Linked DNA regions of Homo sapiens: region 2 is linked to region 1. The links are contacts of gene promoters, found by promoter capture Hi-C in human tissues and cell types (Jung and others, 2019). All regions are on one chromosome and are shown on one strand. Each heading gives the region's core, a stretch centred on a gene start or on the middle of the fragment in contact. The rest is flanking DNA. Distances are from core to core; before and after follow the strand shown.

Evidence for each region. The method cuts DNA at HindIII sites, captures the fragments that hold promoters and counts their contacts. A contact is called where the count stands out against the background at its distance.
Region 2: a contact is called between a fragment that was not itself captured here and the fragment with the promoter of FHDC1 in region 1, in 1 of the 25 tissues and cell types used here (lymphoblastoid cells).

What each region holds. Positions count from the first base shown.
Region 1 is chr4:152,934,824-152,939,077 of GRCh38, reverse strand. It overlaps FHDC1 (FH2 domain containing 1), which reads right to left and starts at 2,755. Exons shown (of 12, transcript NM_001371116.1): 1 at 2,669-2,755. It overlaps LOC729870 (a long non-coding RNA gene), which reads left to right and starts at 2,241. Exons shown (of 2, transcript NR_136614.1): 1 at 2,241-2,429; 2 at 3,628-4,254. RefSeq lists silencers at 1,118-1,377, 2,710-2,799. The HindIII fragment of the contact is 7,704 bases long and covers 1-4,254 here.
Region 2 is chr4:153,308,203-153,312,646 of GRCh38, reverse strand. The region is part of intron 6 of TRIM2 (tripartite motif containing 2); the gene reads right to left. It also overlaps the pseudogene ANXA2P1. Among named protein-coding and RNA genes, the nearest start is that of MND1, 34 kb to the left of the region's middle. The HindIII fragment of the contact is 6,924 bases long and covers 1-4,444 here.

The DNA.
Region 1 (4,254 bases), core at 1,506-4,005:
AAAAAAAAGACGTTCTAGTCTCTTGAAGGGAGCCAAGAAAAAAGAGTATATAGGCTTCATCTCACAGTGTATTTAAGGGGAGAGCATGTTCCTGGCCGTCAGTTTGGAGCTCAGGGCTTTCCTGAACGAGGACCAGTGGTCCTGGTGCTCAGAATGAGTGGTTCTGCACCAGTGGTCCTGGTGCTCAGAATGAGTGGTTCTGCACCAGCGGTCCTGGTGCTCAGAATGAGTGGTTCTGCACCAGTGGTTCTGGTGCTCAGAATGAGGGTCTTGGTGCTCAGCTGGTCACTCACTCCTTTGGTCAACAATAATCAAAAGGAACATCAAGGAAAACCTGCCAGAAAACCTTTCTCCTTGACTCCTGGCATGTGCCACAGAAGAGGTGGGGGCAGGAAGGGCTGGCCCACATGCTTCTGATGACAAACCAGGGTAGAACAAGCCGAGTTTGGAGAGCAGAGGTAGAGAAACACACAGCCCTATTTTATTGTATTTGGGAGAGAAGAAAAGGATGGGGAAAGTACGGACAATTCTAAACTATGGAATTTTTACTCCCACTCCACTAATTCGGGAAAAGGCTCCTCCACCACCACTTATCTTTCAAAAGCTTTCTTGATTATTAAACACAGAATGTCAGTCGGTACAATTACGCAGTCGGGCCAGAGCCGGACCGTCCAGCTCTTCTGTGAGTTCCGTCTGCCTGTGCTCCAGGCAGTAGTGAAAGAACCCAGGACAACGCGTTCCCAGTAAGCGCCTTCAATCTGCAGCACAATGTAAATATTCATAGGCGCCCGAGACCAACACCCGAGAGCAGAGGAAAAACGCCTGTATTTGAATGTTCATTTTCAGTTTCTCTCACTGTCCCAAAACCAAGAAAAAAAAAAAAAAAAGCACATGCGTGCCAAAGGATGCTCTAGAGAGAGGGAAGGGAGCGCCGGCTGCTCCTTCCAGGAAGACAACTGTGGGTCAGTTGAAGGGGGTCACAGACGGCCGAATCCCGGAGGTCGTTTCTGTCCACACGGAAGTTTGAAAACCGACCATTAAGTCCGGAAGAAATTCGGCCTGGGGGGTCCTGGGACACCACTTCTTTCAAGTTTGGATACGTAGTAGTTCACCAGCTCTCTGCGTTAGACAGCTGTCCGCAGCCTCCTTACATCCCCAACCCGGCACCCCGGTCCCCGCCCGAGCCACTCACCAACAAGCCACCGGCTCAGCCGCCACCGGCTGGGCCGCGAATCCCCGGGGAGCCGCGCTGGGGTCAGCAAACTGAACGCGAGTGGGCGGCCCACGGGCCGCGCGGAGCCCCAGCTGCGTCCTTATCAGCGCCGGGCAGAAGGGCGTCGCGGCGCGAGGGTGGGGCGCCGGTGCGCGCTGAGATCGACGCCCACACGCGCCGCGCCAGCTCTGCGGCGGGGAGAGAAGCCGCGGCCTGCGGGGCGGGGACTGCGGGGCGGGCGCCCAGCGCGGGCGTTGCACGACCCTCGGCCTTCCGCAGCGCCGACCGCTCTCCCGTCCGGCGGCTGCAGCTGCTGGGTCGGCCGCCGCACCCGCTCGCCCATTCCCGGCCCCTCCAGTTGGAGGGGGTCTCGGCCCCGCCCCCCTCCCCGAGGGGCCCACGCTGGAAAGCCCACGCTCCCCACGCCACGCCCCCCAGGGCGCCAGCCCCTCTGCGGGGGTTTAGCACGCTGCGCCCAGAAGTTGGGTGGGAGACGGCTAACTAGGGGAGGTGTCCGTGTGAATGAAACGAAAGGGGGGGTCTTCCGGCTCGCAGACACCGGGTCTGCGGCGGCCGCGCGCTCCCAACCCACCCGGAGCCTCCGCCGCGACATCTTCCCACGTCCCCCATCCAGGTCGCAGGCGCGGGGGAAAAGCCTCACGGCCGCACTGCGGCTCTGCCAAAAGGGAGCCGGGTCGAGCCGCTGAGAAAAACAGAGGGGAGACTCCTGGCGTTTGAAACCGGTCAGAACCCGCTCTCCAAGAGCTGGGGACACCCCTTGTTTGGAGGCTGATCCCCAGCCCACCCGCTTCCTCCCCCTCCCCACACTCCTGCAGGCGCGGGGCGCAACTTGCAATCCGAACTTCGCGCGGCCGGAGCAAGTTTGTCGGGGCGAGAAGCGCCTGGTCCTCGGTCCGCACCACCGCACTAGGTCCCCGCCACCGCCCCACCACTGTGTCAGGGGCCAGGCGTGGCCCCCGGCTGGCTAGGGAACCGAGCGCGGCGCCGCGGCTGCGCATTCCGTGCGGGACGCCGCTGTCTCCCAAGGGTCGGGATAAACTAGGGGGCGGTTGATCTGAAAGTCTTAGCCACGACTAATAGTCAACCGCCCAGGTGCGACCCGCAGCAGCCTTGGCGATGCAGCTCGTTCTCCAGACGCGGGTCCACACCGGCGCGTCCTCGCCTCCAGGGACCGATCGCTGTTCTCCGTGGCCGGGTAAGGGCGGCCGCCAAAGTCACCGGGGTGGATGTGGAGGGAACTGGAACCTCCTCTCCAGCTTTCCCGGTGAGGCTCGGAGGAAGCCGAGACCCGGCACCCATCAGCCGCGCTTCTCGGCGCCTCAGCCTCGGGTCCCGGACAACACCCCAACCCTGACCCTCCCGAGCGGCGGGGCTCCAGCTCCCCGTGTCCCGCGCCGCGGTCGCCCCCGCCTCGGCCGCCCGACCCGCACTCACCCGCGGCCAGCGCGCCCCCGCTCCCGGCGCGCAGACCGCTGCAGCCTCCCGCCGTTGTGTCGGCGTAGCCGCCTCCTCCCGGTCACTGCAGGCCCAGCCAACCCTGAGCGCGAGGGGGCAGGGCGGGGCGGGGCGCAGCGGCAGCCTCAGGTAACAAAGCTGCGGCCTCGCTGCTCCTGGCCGGCCGGGAAGGGCAGCGCGCCCTTTCCTGCTCCGCCCCTCCCTCGCCTCCCCTTCCACCCTACGCGCGCCACCGTCACCGCCACGCGCTCACCTTCACCTGCGCGGGGCCCCGGGGGAGACGCCTCGGGGCACACTGCTTCCCGCACCCGAAGGCTGGTGCGGGGCTAGGCCGGGGGCCACCGAGAGAAGTAGGGGCGGCAGGAGACGGAGATAGCTGGGCTGCCCAGAAGAGCCAGGTGTCCTCGGGGAACGGGCGAGAGGAGGCGCCAAGCTGGCTTCTGAACCTGCAAGTGCCTTTCACAAAGGAGCCTTTGCGACAGCCTCCCAGGCACCCTCTCTTGTGCACACGGGCGCGCACACACTCTTATATACACGCGCGCACACACACACACACACCCGCACACGCCCCCCGACGCACGCGCCAGACCACCCTCTGCCCCAACACTTGCTTCTCCCTGGAGAGCTAGCAGCACTTGGGCGAACTGACCTGTCCCAACCCCTACAGCTGAAACCTGGCTGCGCTAGAGCTTCGCAAAGGTCAGCTCCTCCCTGGGGCCTGCCAAGCTGTAAATTTGTTACCGTTTTTTATTTTGTTTTTGTTTTTAATTCTCAATGATGATGGTAACAGAAACCTTTAGGTTGTATTAAAGCGTAAAAAGACCCCTCAAAAATTTTGCCAGGCCTCATCGAATGAACGCACGCTGTCTGGGAAAGGCACACTCCTCACAGAAAGAAACAGGGGAATCGATTTAATCACATTTTTTTTTTCTTCAAAGTGACTTGGGGCGCCAGTGAGAAGCAAGTAGTCAAAGAAAACATCCCGGGCAAACCGGCTGACCGAAAATCCACTGTCGGGGTAGGGAGGCGCCCTCTACGGGGATGAAGTCATCGCTACCTTTGACTCTTTGATCCTAGATAACCGACCAAGACGTTTCCAGCCTAATGCCTGACGCCTTTTGCTTCCTCCATCCTGGTCCTCAGTCCCTGAACTCCCAGGACAGAATTCCTGACCTCCTTGGTCAAGCCTTGGATCGAGAAAGAGAAACTATTAGTGTAAACAAACCAATCAACCCCAAAACCAAAACTGTGCCTGCCAATAGCCCATTTCTTGGCCATTGATGGTGCATGAAGAGAAATGGATCCAATTAAGAAAATCTTAAAATCTTAAGGAATAAGAAAATGTAATAAAGAGAAAGACAATGTCATGCTCAGGGAGCTAATATGAATCCCAAAGGAATATTGACTGTTCAGGCTCAAGTTAAATTACAGCAGATCGAAAGTGAGGAGTTGAGTGGCATCTTCTTTTCTCTTACTGTCGACCTTGTTAAATGGGGAGTCCACACCCCTTGCCTACTCCTCCCTCCTCAACCCCGTGACAGTGGGCCTCCCCCCAACTGTATTGA
Region 2 (4,444 bases), core at 1,817-4,316, 370 kb before region 1:
ACACTGACTTCCACAAGGGTTGAACTAGTTTACAGTCCCACCAACAGTGTAAAAGTATTCCTATTTCTCCACATCCTCTCCAGCACCTGTTGTTTCCTGACTTTTTAATGATCGCCATTCTAACTGGTGTGAGATGGTATCTCATTGTGGTTTTGATTTGCATTTCTCTGATGGCCAGTGATGGTGAGCATTTTTTCATGTGTTTTTTGGCTGCATAAATGTCTTCTTTTGAGAAGTGTCTGTTCATGTCCTTCGCCCACTTTTTGATGGGGTTGTTTGTTGCGGCATTATTCACAATAGCAAAGAATTGGAACCAACCCAAATGTCCAACAATGATAGACTGGATTAAGAAAATGTGGCACATATACACCATGGAATACTATGCAGCCATAAAAAATGATGAGTTCATGTCCTTTGTAGGGACATGGATAAAATTGGAAATCATCATTCTCAGTAAACTATCGCAAGAACAAAAAACCAAACACCACATATTCTCACTCACAGGTGGGAATTGAACAATGAGAACACATGGACACAGGAAGGGGAACATCACACTCTGGGGACTGTTGTGGGGTGGGGGGAGGGGGTAGGGATAGCATTGGGAGATATACCTAATGCTAGATGACGAGTTAGTGGGTGCAGCGCACCAGCATGCACATGTATACATATGTAACTAACATGCACATTGTGCACATGTACCCTAAAACTTAAAGTATAATAATAATAAATAAATAAATAAATAAATAAATAAAAGAATAAAAACTTCATTTATCAAAAACATTTTATAGGCCAGGCATCATAGCTCGTGCCTGTAATCACAGCACTTTGGGAGGCTGAGGCAGGAGGATTGCTTGAGGCCAAGAGTTCGAGACAGCCTGGGCAACACAGTAAGAACCCATCTCTACAAAAAAAAAAAAAAATTGATAAACACAAGCATGGAATTAAACAAGATGAGGAAATGAAGACCAATTAACTGAGGCTGGACCATAAACCAAAGAAGTGACTATATAAAACCCAGGCTATTCTAGATTCTTGCTTATATAAAATTGAAAGTGCACCCAGGCTTAGAGGGCATACAAGGAAGGGAAAGAAATACTGAAAAACAGGAGAGAAGGGGCTAAAAAGCACCTGAACAGAATAGATGAACACTGATTTACTGTCTTTGTGGTCCAGGTAGGGACAAAAACTGCCTGCTGCTCTCCTTCCTCTAGCCTTTTGTCTATCCTGCTAGAATGATGCCTATTCTATTCAGAAGACCATGCAGACAGTAGCAGCTTATAAAAGGAAAAGAAAAAAAAACAGAGAAAATAGTGCTTTAGTACTAGTCAAGGAGGTGTCTTAGTCAAAAAGAGTCTGTTTTCCTTTTGAAAATATGGACATGATGTTGGAGGAGGGAAAATATGAGGAAAAAGTACTAACACTTTTTGTTCTTTACAGAAATAAGCACACGTTTTTTCAGTGTGAGTAGAAATGGGCAATAGTTGTATTTTGGGGTATAATTTTAAAACTTGGGAAGATATTTAGTTGGATTCCATAGTAATAGACCATTCAGAGCAAGGAGAAGGAAGACTCTATGCTTAGCTTGACATGAATGTGAGATGTTCCATACCTGCTAATACTAGGTCACAAGAGCAATGGACTGTGTTGCAAAAGACCACACTGCTGGAAAGAGGTTCCATGACCTCTGCTGAACTCAAGGGCAATGTGTTGGCCCAGCTCTTATTCTTGGTTTGAATTTAAGGAGAGCTCAAGTCTGTTGCCCACATGTAAATTAAATCACAAGGTCAGAGGAATGTCTGTTTGTCTAACATTGCTTATATATTTTTGAAAGAAGCTAAACGAAACAGGCACTACCATTTTTATTTTGCAATATTTGTTTTTAAAAAATCTTTTCTTTAAGCTCTATGGCTTGGTTTCTGAATGGCTGGTTGGGATTCCTGGTAACATCTCCTGATTCTTACGGTCCTCTTTTGTCGTATTGGAGATTATTGATTATTATTATTTTTTAAACTCTACCTGAAAGCACAGCAGAATCAGTGTGTTACTCCTGAAGATTAAAAGGACACCACTAGCATATACTTGGGAAGACAATTGATGCCAACTATTTTCACCAACAGTTAAACTAGAAATATCTTGATGGTGATGCAGCACTACAGTAGATTGTCATTATGCTGCAATGTTCAAGTGTTTGTAAAGTGTCTTAAGGCAATTCCAGAAGTTAGAAATAATTTGGGATCATGCCTTACTCTTCAAGCTTTTCAGTAAATTCTGTTTCATTTGTAGAAAGTCTCTTCTCTCTCTCTAAAGTATTCTAAATATATAATAAAAACTAGTTCTTTCATAACAAATATAAATAACACAAAACACATATAATACTTATAAAATATTTTTCTATCTACTTTAATGTAAAAGATTTCATTTGATGGTTACATATTAGCTAGTAGAATGAATAACAAGAATTTTTAAAGTAATTATAATCAATTTAACAATTATTCTATAATTCCATAATTAAATCATTTTGTTTTTCCAGATGCAAGTCTAGCCTATGAAGCACAAAATGAATTTTTAATTCAACAGCTTCTCACCCATATTCTTCCTGGTCACTTCCACCTACCCCTCCAGGAAGATTACATAAGGTGAACCCTTAGACTGAAATAGGGGATCAATAAATGCAGATTTCCTCTCACCACCCACTCCAACTTAATATGAAATTAATGCTGGCCGGGCACAATGGCTTACACCTGTAATCCCAGCACTTTGGGAGGCCAAGGTGGGTGGATCACTTGAGGTCAGGAATTTAAGACCAGCCTGGCCAACATAATGAAACCCCATCCCTACTACTAAAAATACAAAAAATTAGCTGAGCATGGTGGCGCATGCCTGTAATCCCAGCTACTCAGGAGGCCGAGGCAGGAGAATTGTTTGAACCCAGGAGGCAGTGGTTGCAGTGGGCTGAGATCATGCCACTGTACTTCAGCCTGCAAGACTCCATCTCAAAAAAAAAAAAAAAAAAGAAGTTAATGCTAAATAAATCTAGATGTTTTGAATGGAATCATGCAACAAGATGAAACTGAGCCAAGTGTAAGATCTAACACAGGATCTTCAATCAAGTAGGTGCTTAACAAATGTTTGCTGGATGAAAAAGTGCATGAATAAGTTATTAATGAGTGAGTAAATTACAACCCCCATTGTATCACTGGAAAACAAAATGTTCAATTATATTTATAGCACTTTCATGTACATTTTCTCACATACCATCCCATGAGATAGCAGGACAAACATTATCATCCCCATTTTATAGATGAGAAAGTTGAAGCTAGACACATTACCGAGATCATCAGAGACAGGGGGAAGAATAAAACCTGGTTCTCCTGATCCTTTACATAACACTTTTTTCCCCAATACACACATGGCTTCTTCTGGGTTTTGGTGGTGAAGATAATTACATTTTGGGCTCACATGAATCATGTTTTCTCTTTAAAATCCTTTAGAAAACCCCATCCTTTAACACATGATACTTTATTTAACTGTCTGTATCCTTCACTACACTGTAAGTTGCTTGAGGGCAGGAGCAACATCTGTCCTGTACACCATTGCACCCTATAACACAGCATAGTGCCTAGCACTTAGTCAATATTAGTTGCATCTTTTTCCACTTGAAATGCAAGAAGAGTTCCCAAGGATGAGATTCTCAAGGATGGGGTGAAGGTCCTATAATGACCTAAGATGCCAACTTAGCACGACCTCCCTCCTCATATATTTTAGGGAGGAAAGGTGGTAGTTTGCAGAGGTGGGGCAGGGGAGAGGGGCATAAAATAATATATTTTCAGCTCAGCATCTGGGGACGCTCTCAGGTCTTGGTGCCCAGCCCAGCTTCCTTCAAAATATCTGCTGTTCATGAAATCCTGTGCAAGCTCAGCTTGGAGGGTGAACACTCTACACTCCCAAGTGCATTTGGGTCAGTCAAAGCCTACACCAAATTTGATGCTGAGCAGGATGCTTTGAACATTGAAATGGCCATCAAGACCAAAGGTGTGGATGAGATCACCACTGTCAACATTTTGACTAACCACAGCAATGCACAGAGACAGGATATTGCCTTCACCTACCAGAGAAGGACCAAAAAGGAACTTGTATCAGCACTTAAGTCAGCCTTATCTGGCCACCTAGATAGTGGCTTTGGGCCTATTAAAGACACCTGCTCAGTATGATGCTTCTGAGCTAAAATCTTCCATGAAGGGGCTGGGAACCAACAAGGACTCCCTCATTGAGATCATCTGCTCAAGAACCAACCAAGAGCTGCAGGAAATTAACAGAGTCTACAAGGAAATGTACAAGACTGATCTGGAGAAGGACATTATTTCGGACACATCTGGTGACTTCTGCAAGCTGATGGTTGCCCTGGCAAAGGGTAGAAGAGCAGAGGATGGCTCTGTCATTGATT